Linked DNA regions of Homo sapiens: region 2 is linked to region 1. The links are contacts of gene promoters, found by promoter capture Hi-C in human tissues and cell types (Jung and others, 2019). All regions are on one chromosome and are shown on one strand. Each heading gives the region's core, a stretch centred on a gene start or on the middle of the fragment in contact. The rest is flanking DNA. Distances are from core to core; before and after follow the strand shown.

Evidence for each region. Contacts are between HindIII fragments. The study calls those that stand out against the background at their distance.
Region 2: a fragment that was not itself captured here is called in contact with the fragment with the promoter of ATP6V1E1 in region 1 in 1 of the 25 tissues and cell types used here (H1 embryonic stem cells).

The regions. Positions count from the first base shown.
Region 1 is chr22:17,626,739-17,632,195 of GRCh38, reverse strand. ATP6V1E1 (ATPase H+ transporting V1 subunit E1) reads left to right here and starts at 3,447. Exons shown (of 9, transcript NM_001696.4): 1 at 3,447-3,593. The coding sequence starts at 3,561. It also overlaps a transcript of BCL2L13 not described here. RefSeq lists enhancers at 3,322-3,491, 3,433-3,522, 3,603-3,752. The HindIII fragment of the contact is 10,651 bases long and covers 1-5,457 here.
Region 2 is chr22:17,387,648-17,393,104 of GRCh38, reverse strand. The region is part of intron 1 of CECR2 (CECR2 histone acetyl-lysine reader); the gene reads right to left. Among named protein-coding and RNA genes, the nearest start is that of CECR2, 21 kb to the right of the region's middle. The HindIII fragment of the contact is 4,080 bases long and covers 406-4,485 here.

The DNA.
Region 1 (5,457 bases), core at 2,198-4,697:
GGCAACGTTTATTGTCCTGTGGGTAAATCTTTCCTTTATCCAGCATTATCAGTATTCTCAAATATGTATACCAAATATGTATACCAATCTGTCATACAGTACAAGGAACATTGTACACTAGTACAAATGGGGAAAAAATGGCAGCATGTATTAACAGCCTTCAAAATATGTGTACCGGCCAGGCGCCGTGGCTCACGCCTGTAATCCCAAGACTTTGGGATGCCAAGGCGGGCAGATCACGAGGTCAGGAGTTCGAGATCAGCCTGGCCAATATGGTGAAACCCCATCTCTACTAAAAATACAAAAATTAGCTGAGTGTGGTGGCACGCGCCTATAGTCCCAGCTACACAGGAGGCTGAGGCAGAAGAATCACTTGAACCCGGGAGGTGGAAGTTGCAGTGAGCTGAGACTGCGCCACTGCACTCCAGCCTGGGCAACAATAGCGAAACTCCATCTCAAAAAAAAAAAAAAAAAAAAAAAAAAAAAAAATATATATATATATATATATATATATATATATATATACACACACACACATACATACACACACGTACCATTCCTACTAAAAGGACAAAGAGCTGAGGTGGGAGGATCCCCTGAGCCCAGGAGTTCGAGACTAGCCTGACAAACACTGTAGGACTCTGTCTCAATTTTAAAAATAAAATTGAAAAAAAGGGACAAACGGACATCATGTACTTTCTGATGTGTTGCAAAGAGGACACAATATCACACATGTAGTACTCCTGCTATAATGCGTAACCTGAATCTAATTATGAGGAAACTGTCAAAACCCAATTGAGGCTGGGCGTGGTGGCTCACACCTGTCATCCCAGCACTTTGGGATGCCAAGGCAGGCAGATCATCTGAGCTCAGGAGTTCCAAGAACAGCCTGGCCAATGTGGCAAAACCCTGTTTCTACCAAAAAGAAAAAATTAGCGGGGCGTGGTGGCGGGCGCTTGTAATCCCAGCTACTGGAGAGGCTGAGGCAGGAAAATCTCTTGAACCCAGGAGGTGGAGGTTGCAGTGAGCCGAGTTTGCACCACTGCACTCCAGCATGAGCGACACTCTTCTGTCTCAAAAAAAAAAAAAATTGAGTGATTTTCTACAACTGGCCTATATTCTTCAAAATGTCACTATCAAGAAAGATAAGTCTGAGGAAACTCTTCCATATTAAAGGAGACTAAAAAGACATGATCACTAATGCAGTAAGTGACCCTGGATCCAATCCAGGTTATAAAGGTTATAAAGTAAGGTTATAAGAAGGTTATAAAAGGTTAAAAAGTAAGGTTATTAAAAAAAGGTTATGGCTGGGCGCGGTGGCTCACGTCTGTAATCCCAGCACTTTGGGAGGTGGAGGCAGGCAGATCACCTGAGGTCGGGAGTTCAAGACCACCCTGGCCAATGTGTTGAAACCCCATCTCTACTAAAAATGCAAAAATTAGCTGGGCGTGGTGGCAGATGCCTGTAATCTCAGCTACTGGGGAGGCTGAGGCAGGAGAATCAATTGAACCCGGGAGGCGGAGGTTGTGGTGAGCCGAGATTCTGCCACTGCACTCTAGCCTGGGCAACAGAGCGAGACTCCATCTCAAAAAAAAAAAAAAAAAGAAAAGAAAAAGAAGGCCGGGTGCAGTGGCTCACACCTGTAATCCCAGCACTCTCGGAGGCCGAGGCAGGTGGATCACGAGGTCAGCAGTTCAAGACCAGCCTGGCCAACACAGTGAAACCTCATCTCTACTAAAAATACAAAAATTAGCCATGCATGGTGGCAGGCACCTGTAATCCCAGCTGCTTGGGAGGCTGAGGGAGGAGAATCACTTGATCCCGGGAGGCAGAGGTTGTAGTGAGCTGACACCATGCCGTTGCACTGCAGCCTGGGCGACAGAGTGAGACTCTGTCTCAAAAAAAAAAGAAAGGGTTATAAAGTACATTGATGGATTGATGGGACAAAGGAATTTGTTTTTTTTTTTTTTGTTTTTTTGAGACGGAGTCTCACTCTTATTGCCCAGGCTGGAGTGCAGTGGCACGATCTTGGCTCACCGCAACCTCTGCTCCTGGGTTGAAGCAATTCTCCTGCCTCAGCCTCTCCAGTGGCTGGGATTACAGGCACACACCACCACGCCTGTTAATTTTGTATTTTTAGTAGAGACTGGGGTTTCTCCATGTTGGTCAGGCTGGTCTCGAAATCCCGACCTCAGGTGATCTGCCCACCTCAGCCTCCCAAAGTGGTGGGATTACAGGCGTGAGACACCGCGCCTGGCCCGGGACAAAGGAAATTAATGTTCAGCCTAGTAAACTAAATTTCCTGAATTTGCTACATCCTCGTTCTTATGACACACTAAAATAGGAAGTGTGTGTGTGTGTGTGTGTGTGTGTGTGTATGAAAATAAAGTGTTAATGTACATGTAGCAAAATGTTAACAATTGTTGAATCTAGGTGAAGGGAGGTCAATGCAGTATTCTTACAAGTTACTATATCTCAAATTTCTTCAAGATAAAAAGCTAATAAAAATGGTGGGTAACCATAGCACAGTAAAAAGAAAAAAGTGGGTGTACCATTTGACCTCTTATTCTACTATTAGGAGTCAGTCTATCCTAAAGATAAAGGAATTTTCAAAAGTTTTTGCCTTTGGGATTTTGGGGAAAAAAACGGGCTTGAGGTAAATCCAAATAAAAACAAATGAGCCTGGGGGGATTTCTGTCCTAATATTCCTCTAAATGGGACCTGGGAAGGCTTTTGAAAAATATATAGGCTATCTCAGAAAAGTTCCAAATAAATTATGTAGCTGCTCCACCCTAATAAGGAAGTTGAGCATAGCTTCCCACTCCCTAGGTGTGGGCTTTGTATAGTGGCTTCCTTCCTAAGACTACAGTATGGAAAGGGGGTTAAAAAAGGTAACTTCAGAGTGGAGAAACCTACAAACCCTACACTTTATTCAGGTAATCAAGGTTGACATGAATAGTCAGAAATCATGTATCCCCCTTTTTTTTTTCTTTTGGTAGAGACGGGGTTCCTCTATGTTGTCCAGCCTGGTCTCGAACTTGAGGTCAAGCGATACACCCGCCTTGGTCTCCCAAAGTCTCCGGATTGCAGGCGTGAGCCACCACGCCCGGCCAACAATCATGTACCCCTAAGCCCATAACCCTGTGTAATTATGCGAAAAATTCCAATAAAGGCACATTCTCCAATATACCTAACCAGTACTCCTCAAAACAGCCCGACTAATTTCAGATAGAGGAACTCCTTATCTTTTCTTCCTCCTACCCAAGATCCCAGTTTAGGAAAAAAATACCGGTCAGGTCACGAGTCAGCGACGTAGAAGGACCCGAGGACGCGCCCACAGGCCGGGACAGGGCGGGACTTCCTGGGCGTCGCTCTCTTCCCATTGGCTGAGAAGGGTCATGAGGATGAACTGTGCAGTCACCTGGCAGGAACCGGAACCCGCGGTTATAAAGTAAAGGAACCCGAGATCTGCGCAGGGGTTCCCTTTGCCGATTTCTCTCACCTCACCTTTCAAACCTAAACTCGAGCCTACTGTTCACCGGCCTAGCATTGCTCTCGCCATGGCTCTCAGCGATGCTGACGTGCAAAAGCAGGTGAGGGGCTTGGTTGGGTCTTACGAAGCCGCGGCGGCAGTCCCGGGGAGTGGGCTGGAGCCCGCCTAGGGAAGGCCGCGGGCCTTGAGCCGCCCAGATGCCGCAGGAAGGTCCCTTGCTCCAAGTCACCAGATCCAAGAGGTCGGCCTGAGGACGGAGATTTGCCCCGCAGCTCATGTGACTTTTGCTCGGGTCTTGGGCACTGCCCGCTTGCCTGCGCGCTGCCTTCTTGAACGCCCTGGCTCTTTGCCTCCCACCTCAGCATTCCCTGTTTTCCAAGGGTATTCACTGTGCCTAGTCGGACAGAGATCTGTGCAAGGATTGAAAACAGCCTTGTGGCCAGGGGCAGTGGCTCACGCCTGTAATCCCAGTATTTTGGGAGGCCGAGGCGGCCGGATCACCTGAGGTCAGGAGTCCGAGACTAGCCTGGCCAAAATGGTGAAACCCCGGTCTCTACTAAAAATAGAAAATTAGCCGGACGTGGTGGCGCGCGCCTGTAATCCCAGCTACTCGGGAAGCTGAACCCGGAGGCGGAGGTTGCAGTTAGCCGAGATCGCGCCTTTGCACTCCAGCATGGGCGACAGGGCGAGACTCCCTCTGGAAAAAGAAAAAAAAAAAACAAACCAGCCTTGTCACTTTTTTTTTTTTTAACCCTGAGGGAAATGCTTAAGGCTATATGATAGGAAACAGTGCGGAGGGAAGAGACCTGCTTCCAACCAGTGTTTTGACAAGGTCGTTCACTTTATGAACTGTGTTTTTTTCTTTTTTTCTTTTTTTTTTTTTTGAGACGGAGTCTCACTCTGTCGCCCAGGCTGGAGTGCAAGGGCGCGATCTCGGCTCACTGCAACCTCCGCCCCGGGTTCAAGTGATTCTCCTGCCTCAGCCTCCCTAGAAGCTGGGATTACAGACTCGCGCCCCAAGCCCGGCTAATTTTTGTATTTTTTTTAGTAGAGGCAGGGTCTCACCATATTGGCCTGGCTGGTCTTGAACTCCTGACCTCAGGTGATCTTCCCACCTGGGCCTCCCAAAGTGCTGGGATTACAGGCATGAGCCAACGCGCCAGGCCTGTATGTACTGTTAATCTTCATTTTGGGGAAGTCCCCTCTATCATAATGGATTGTAATGATTGGTCTCCCACTAATGTGTGTGTTAACATTTGTGAGATACAGGCTGGGGCCGGGCATGGTGGCTCACGTCTGTAATACCAGCACTTTGGGAGGCTGAGGAGGGCGGATCACCTGAGGTCAGGAGTTCGAGACGAGCCTGGCCAGCATGGTGAAACCCCATCTCTATTAAAAATACAAAAAATTAGCCGGGCATGGTGGCGGGCGCCTGTAGTCCCAGCTACTCGGGAGGCTGAGGCAGGAGAATGGCGTGAACCCGGGAGGCCGAGCGACCCTGGGCGGCAGAGCGAGACTCCCTCTCAAAAAAATAAAAAAAAAAAGATTGTCTGGGCCTAGTGGGGTGCGCCTGTAGTCCCAGCTACTCAGGAGGCAGAGGCAGGAGAATCGCTTGAACCCGGCAGGCGGAGGTTGCAGTGAGCCAAGATTGTGCCACTGCACTCCAGCCTGGGTGACAGAGTGAGACTCCATCTCAAAAAATTTTAATATTAATAAACACAAATACACGCCAGGTGTGGTGGCTCACACCTGTAGCCCCCAGCACTTTGGGAGGCTGAGGTGGGAGGATCGCTTGATCCCAGGAGTTCAAGACCAGCCTGGGCAACATAGACCTTATCTCTAAAAAATTTTTTCTTAAAAAATAAGCCAGGCTGTCTGGGCATGGTTGCTCATGCCTGTAATCCCAGCACTTTGGAAGGCCGAGGTGGGCATATCACCTGCGGTCAGGAGTTCCAGACCAGCCT
Region 2 (5,457 bases), core at 1,196-3,695, 240 kb after region 1:
ACGGTGGCAACAGTTGTAACTATTTGTAAATATACTAAAACCCACTAACTGGAACACTATTTTCTGAGACAGAGTCTCACTCTGTCACCCAGGCTGCAGTGCAGTGGCGTGATCTCAACTGACTGCAACCTCCACCTTCTGGGCTCAAGCCATTCTCCTGCCTCAGCCTCACGAGTAGCTGGAATTACAGGCGGGTGTCACCACACCTGGCTAATTTTTGTATTTTTAGTAGAGACGGGGTTTCACCATGTTGGCCAGGCTGGTCTTGAACTCCTGACCTTGTGATCTGCCCACCTCGGCCTCCCAAAGTGCTGGGACTACAGGTGTGAGCCACCGTGCCCGGCCTACTTGTTGAACACTTTAAATGAATGAGTTGTATAGTATGTAAATAATATCTCAATAAAGCTGTTTTTTTTTTTCTTTGAGACAAGGTCTTGCTCTGTCACTCAGGCTGGAGTGCAGTGGTATAATTTCGGCTCACTGCAACCTCCATCTCCCTGACTCAACAACTTCCACCTCCCTGGCTCAAGCAATCTTCCCAGCCCAGCTTCCCAAGTAGCTGAGACTACAGGTATGCAACACCATGCCTGGTTTTGTTTTATTTTATTATTCTATTTTTGAGACGGAGTCTCACTGTCGCCCAGGCTGGAGTGCAATGGCACGATCTTGGCTCACTGCAACCTCCGCCTCCCAGGTTCAAGCGATTCTCCTGCCTCAGCCTCCTGAGTAGCTGGGATTACAGGCATGCACCACCATGCCTGTAATTTTGTATTTTTAGTAGAGACAGGGTTTCGCCATGTTGGCCAGGCTGGCCACTGCGCCTGGCCAATTAAAAATTTTTTTTGTTGTTGAGACACGGTCTTACTATGTTCCCAGGCTGGTCTCCAAGTCCTAACCTCAAGCAATCCTCCCATCTCAGCCTCCCAAAGGACTGGGATTACAGGCATGAGCTACCAAGCCACGCTTATTTTTTTAAACAAAAAACATTTGTATTCGGCCAGACGCGGTGGCTCACACTTGTAATCCGAGCACTTTGGGAGGCCGAAGCAGGTGGATCACCTGAGTTTGGGAGTTCGAGAGTTCGAGACCAGCCTGGCTAACATGGTGAAACCCCGTCTCTACTAAAAATACAAAAATTAGCTGGGTGTGGTGGCGCATGCCTGTAATCCCAGTTACTCGGGAAGCTGAGACGGGGGAATTGCTTGAACCTGGGAGACGGAAGTTACAGTGAGCGGAGATTGCGCCACTGTACTCCCGCCTGTAAGAGTGTGAGACTCCGTCTCAAACAAACAAAAGCATCTGTATTCAACAATCACTTTAATCCACATAAGCACACTATATTGGTATATTTTTACAATTTTATTTCATTATACTTTGATTTCAAAATAATATGTGATCATTCAATTTATTTGTCAGTTAATTCCTTTCTCCCAAATGATTATAATTTCCATATTATTACCATAATCAAAATCTAAAATGAAAGAAAATGTAACAATAATTACCAGTTGCTGAGATCTATTTGGGCCAGGCCCTCACATGCTTGGCTCATTCGAACCTCACCACAGCCCTATGGAACACGAGACAACCAAGATGCAGATGAACAAGCTGAGGCTCAACAGGGCTAAGTGACAGGTCCAGACCTTGGGCAAAGCCTGGACCGGAGCCAGAGTGATTCCAATCAACTCTCTGTTGTAATTACTTCACTAGTAGCCCTGCAGCTTGAAATTTAAATCATTTTACCAATGTTTCCCGGTTTCCCTACATCTAGGATAACTGGGTTGGCTTCAGCCTGCCTAAAAACAATTCCCCTACCAACCAACCAGTGTGTAAACCAGGATGGAGGTGTGGTACATCTATAAAAGACACTGTGGGGACAACTGAGGATATTTCAGTGTGAACTGTTTACTGGATGTTATTACAGAATTACTGTTAATTTTCCTAAATGTGAGTATAACATTGTGGTCATACAAGAGAAAGTCCTTATTCATAGGAAGTACATGTACATGTGAAACTATGAAGGGGTAGACTCTCATGACACAGTCGACTTACTTTCAAATGGTTCAGCCAATGTGGCAAAAGTGTTAACAATTGGTACATCTAGAGTAAAGGGTACGCAGGGGTTCACTTATCTTTGAACTTCACCGAACATCTGAAAATTCTCAAAATAAAATAGGAAAAGCTTTAAAAAGCTGAAGCTTTAAAAAGTAATTTCACTTTCTGAACATTGTTTATCAGTGTTCATCTCCTTTAGATTAATTTTCAAAGTTAAAAAAATCAAAGTCTTTTTATAAATTATATTTTTATCAGATATTAAAAACAAATGGTTTTGGGTCAGGAGTGGTGGCTCACGCCTGTCATTCAAGCACTTTGGGACCGGCGAGGTTGAGGCTGCTGAGCTATGATGGTGCCACTGCACTCCACTTTCGGCAACAGACCAAGACCTGTCTCAAAAAACAAAACAAAACAAAACAAAATAAAAACACCTGGTTTAGAATCAAACGCTTAAACTTTATGGATGAAAACTGCACGCCAACTTGTAAAAAGGAATCTGGCAACTGTGATGTAATCACTGATTCAGGCAATTCCTAACGGGTTAATTTGGAGAAGAAACAGGATGTTTGCAAAGTATCTCCCCACAACGTACTTGTTAATTATAAGAGAAAAACAGTAACTTTGCAGTGGAAAGCAGACATCACCCTAACCAAGTGATCAAAGTTAGTAACCACCACCAATAAAGGGCACAATGAAAGTGATGTAACTGCTGATACTATGCACCAAGGGCACGGCCCTCTTCAGCACTCCCGCCAAAAACACATGACCCAAGTTATCCTGAGAGGACTTCCAACAAGCCCAAGTGGAGGGACCGTCAATAGAATGAATGGCTTTTAGTCTTCCAAAAAGGTCAAGCTCAAGAAAGACAAACACTGAAAAACGGCTCTATTTTAAAGGAGACTAAAGAGACTCAACAACTAATGGAATGCCTGATCCTAGACTGAAAACCTGAACCAGAAACAATTTCTAAAATAATAATATATTTAAAATTCATAAAAATAATGTACAAATTATATATATTATTGGCTCAATTGGCAACATTTGATATACTATTATCTACAGATCTTACTCAGTATTAAGTTCCTGATTTTAATAATTGTACTTATATGTATAAGAGAATATTCCGGCCAGGCACAGTGGCTCATGCCTGTAATCCCAGCATTTTGGGACGCCGAGGTGGGCGGATCATCTGAGGTCAGGAGTTCAAGACCAGCCTGGCTAACATGGCAAAACCCCGTCTCTACTAAAAACACAAAAATTAGCCGGGCGTTGTGGCGCATGCCTGTAGTCCCAGCTACTTGGGAGGCTGAGGCAGGAGAACTGCTCTAACCCAGGAGGCGGAGGTTGCAGTGAGCCAAGATCGTGCCACTGAACTCCAGCCTGGGCAACAGAGTGAGACTCCATCTCAAAAATAAATAAATAAATAAAAAAGAATATCCCCGAGCTGGGCGTGGCGGCTCATGCTTGTAGTCCTAGCTACTTGGGAGGCTGAGTCAGAAGGATTGCTTGAGCCCAGGAGTTCAAGACCAACCTGGGCAACACAGCGTGAGACCCCACCTCAAAAGAAAAAAACAATGTTTTTAAGTCATAAAAACACTAAAATGTCAAGGAGTGAAAGGTATCACGTCTTCAACTTATTCTCAGTGTAGAAAAACAGTAATTACACAGCTAGAGATGCCTAGCTAGCTAGCCGGACAGGCAGGCAGGCAGTTGGGAGACAGAAGAGAATGGTACCAAAATTCATGTAACTTTTATGATAAAATATAAAACAAAAAGTAACTATGAAGATAGCTTGGTGGGGAGAAAGAGGGAGATGGCAGTAAAGCACATGGTGTAAAACTGAACACGTGGGGAATCTGGGTAGGGAGCTTAGGAATTCTGTGTACCAGCCTTCTAAGTTTCCGTTAAGTCTGACATTACTTAAAAATAAAGTTTTTAAGGCCGGGCGCAGTGGCTCACACCTGTAATCCCAGCACTTTGGGAGGCCAAGGAGGGTGGATCACTTGAATTCAGGGAGTTCGAGACCAGCCTGGCCAACATGGTGAAACCCCGTCTCTACTAAAAATACAAAAGTTATCCGGGCATGGTGGAGTGTGCCTGTAGTTCCAGCTACTCGAGAGGCTGAAGCAGGAGAACTGCTTGAACCCGGAGGCTGAGGCTGCAGTGAGCTGAGATCGTGCCACTGCACTCCAGCCTGGGCGACAGAGTGAGACTCCACCTCAAAAAAAAATACTAAAATAAAATAAACAAAGTTTTTAAAAAACCCAACCCAGAGTTACAGTAGAGTGGAAAAATGATAAAAGGAGCTCTTAACAGTTATTAACATATTTTGTAAGTAATTTAAGCAAGTGAAGAAAAAACTGAATTGCTTTCACTTCTAAAATGTCTCCTGACTCAGTGTTCTCCGTAAATTGCGTAAAAGATTCCTTTCTAATACCACGACACTAGCTAAAATTTAATCTCACCCACCTTCCCATATACTCTCAAGAACCCGCACTGGATGTCAGTTTTCCTGTCTCACTAGCAGTACTGTTCAATTCATTTACCAAAAAATGCCTCCGCATTTTCCTGAAGTCTGCCGGTATGGGTTCTGCCACCCGCTGGGCATGCGGCCTTGGGTAAATCGCTTCACTCTGAGCCTGTTTCCTACAGTGCTGTCATGGTGATGCCTGCCTCATGGGGGAATTAAACAGATGGGTCAGTTCGGGCATGAGAAACACTTGAGACAGTGCATGGCACCAAAATTCATGTAACTTTTATGATAAAATATAAAACAAAAAGTAACTATGAAGAAAACTTGGCCAGGCGCGGTGGCTCATGCCTGTAATCCCAGCACGTTGGGAGGCTGAGGCGGGCGGATCACCTGAGGTCAGGAGTTTGAGACCAGCCTGGCCAACTTGGTGAAACCCGTCTCTACTAAAAATATAAACATCAGCCAGGCATGGTGGAGCGTGCCTGTAGTTCCAGCTACTTGGGAGGCTGAAGCAGGAGAATTACTTGAACCTGGGAGGCAGAGGTTACAGCGAGCCCAGATGGCACCACTGCACTCCAGCCTGGGCGACAGAGACAGACTCCCTCTCGGGACAAAACAAAAAACAAACAAAAAAAAAACTCAAAACTTAAAACCTCAAATATAGAATGTAATACTAACAGAAGTCTAATGATTAAAAACACTAATCCTATCTTAGAAAAAAAAATTGTTCTGGTTCTTGGTTGTCATGATAGTAAACAACTACAGATAACCCAAACGCCCCTTGGCTAAATGAGAGTCCCTCTACCCGATGAGTATTCTGCAGCTACTGGAAATCATGGCGTGCTGTGATTGAAAGGGCATTCTGTTATATAACACTGTCAACAGAATAGAACAGGATTCAGAAGCATATAGAAAAGTACGATCTTGTGTTT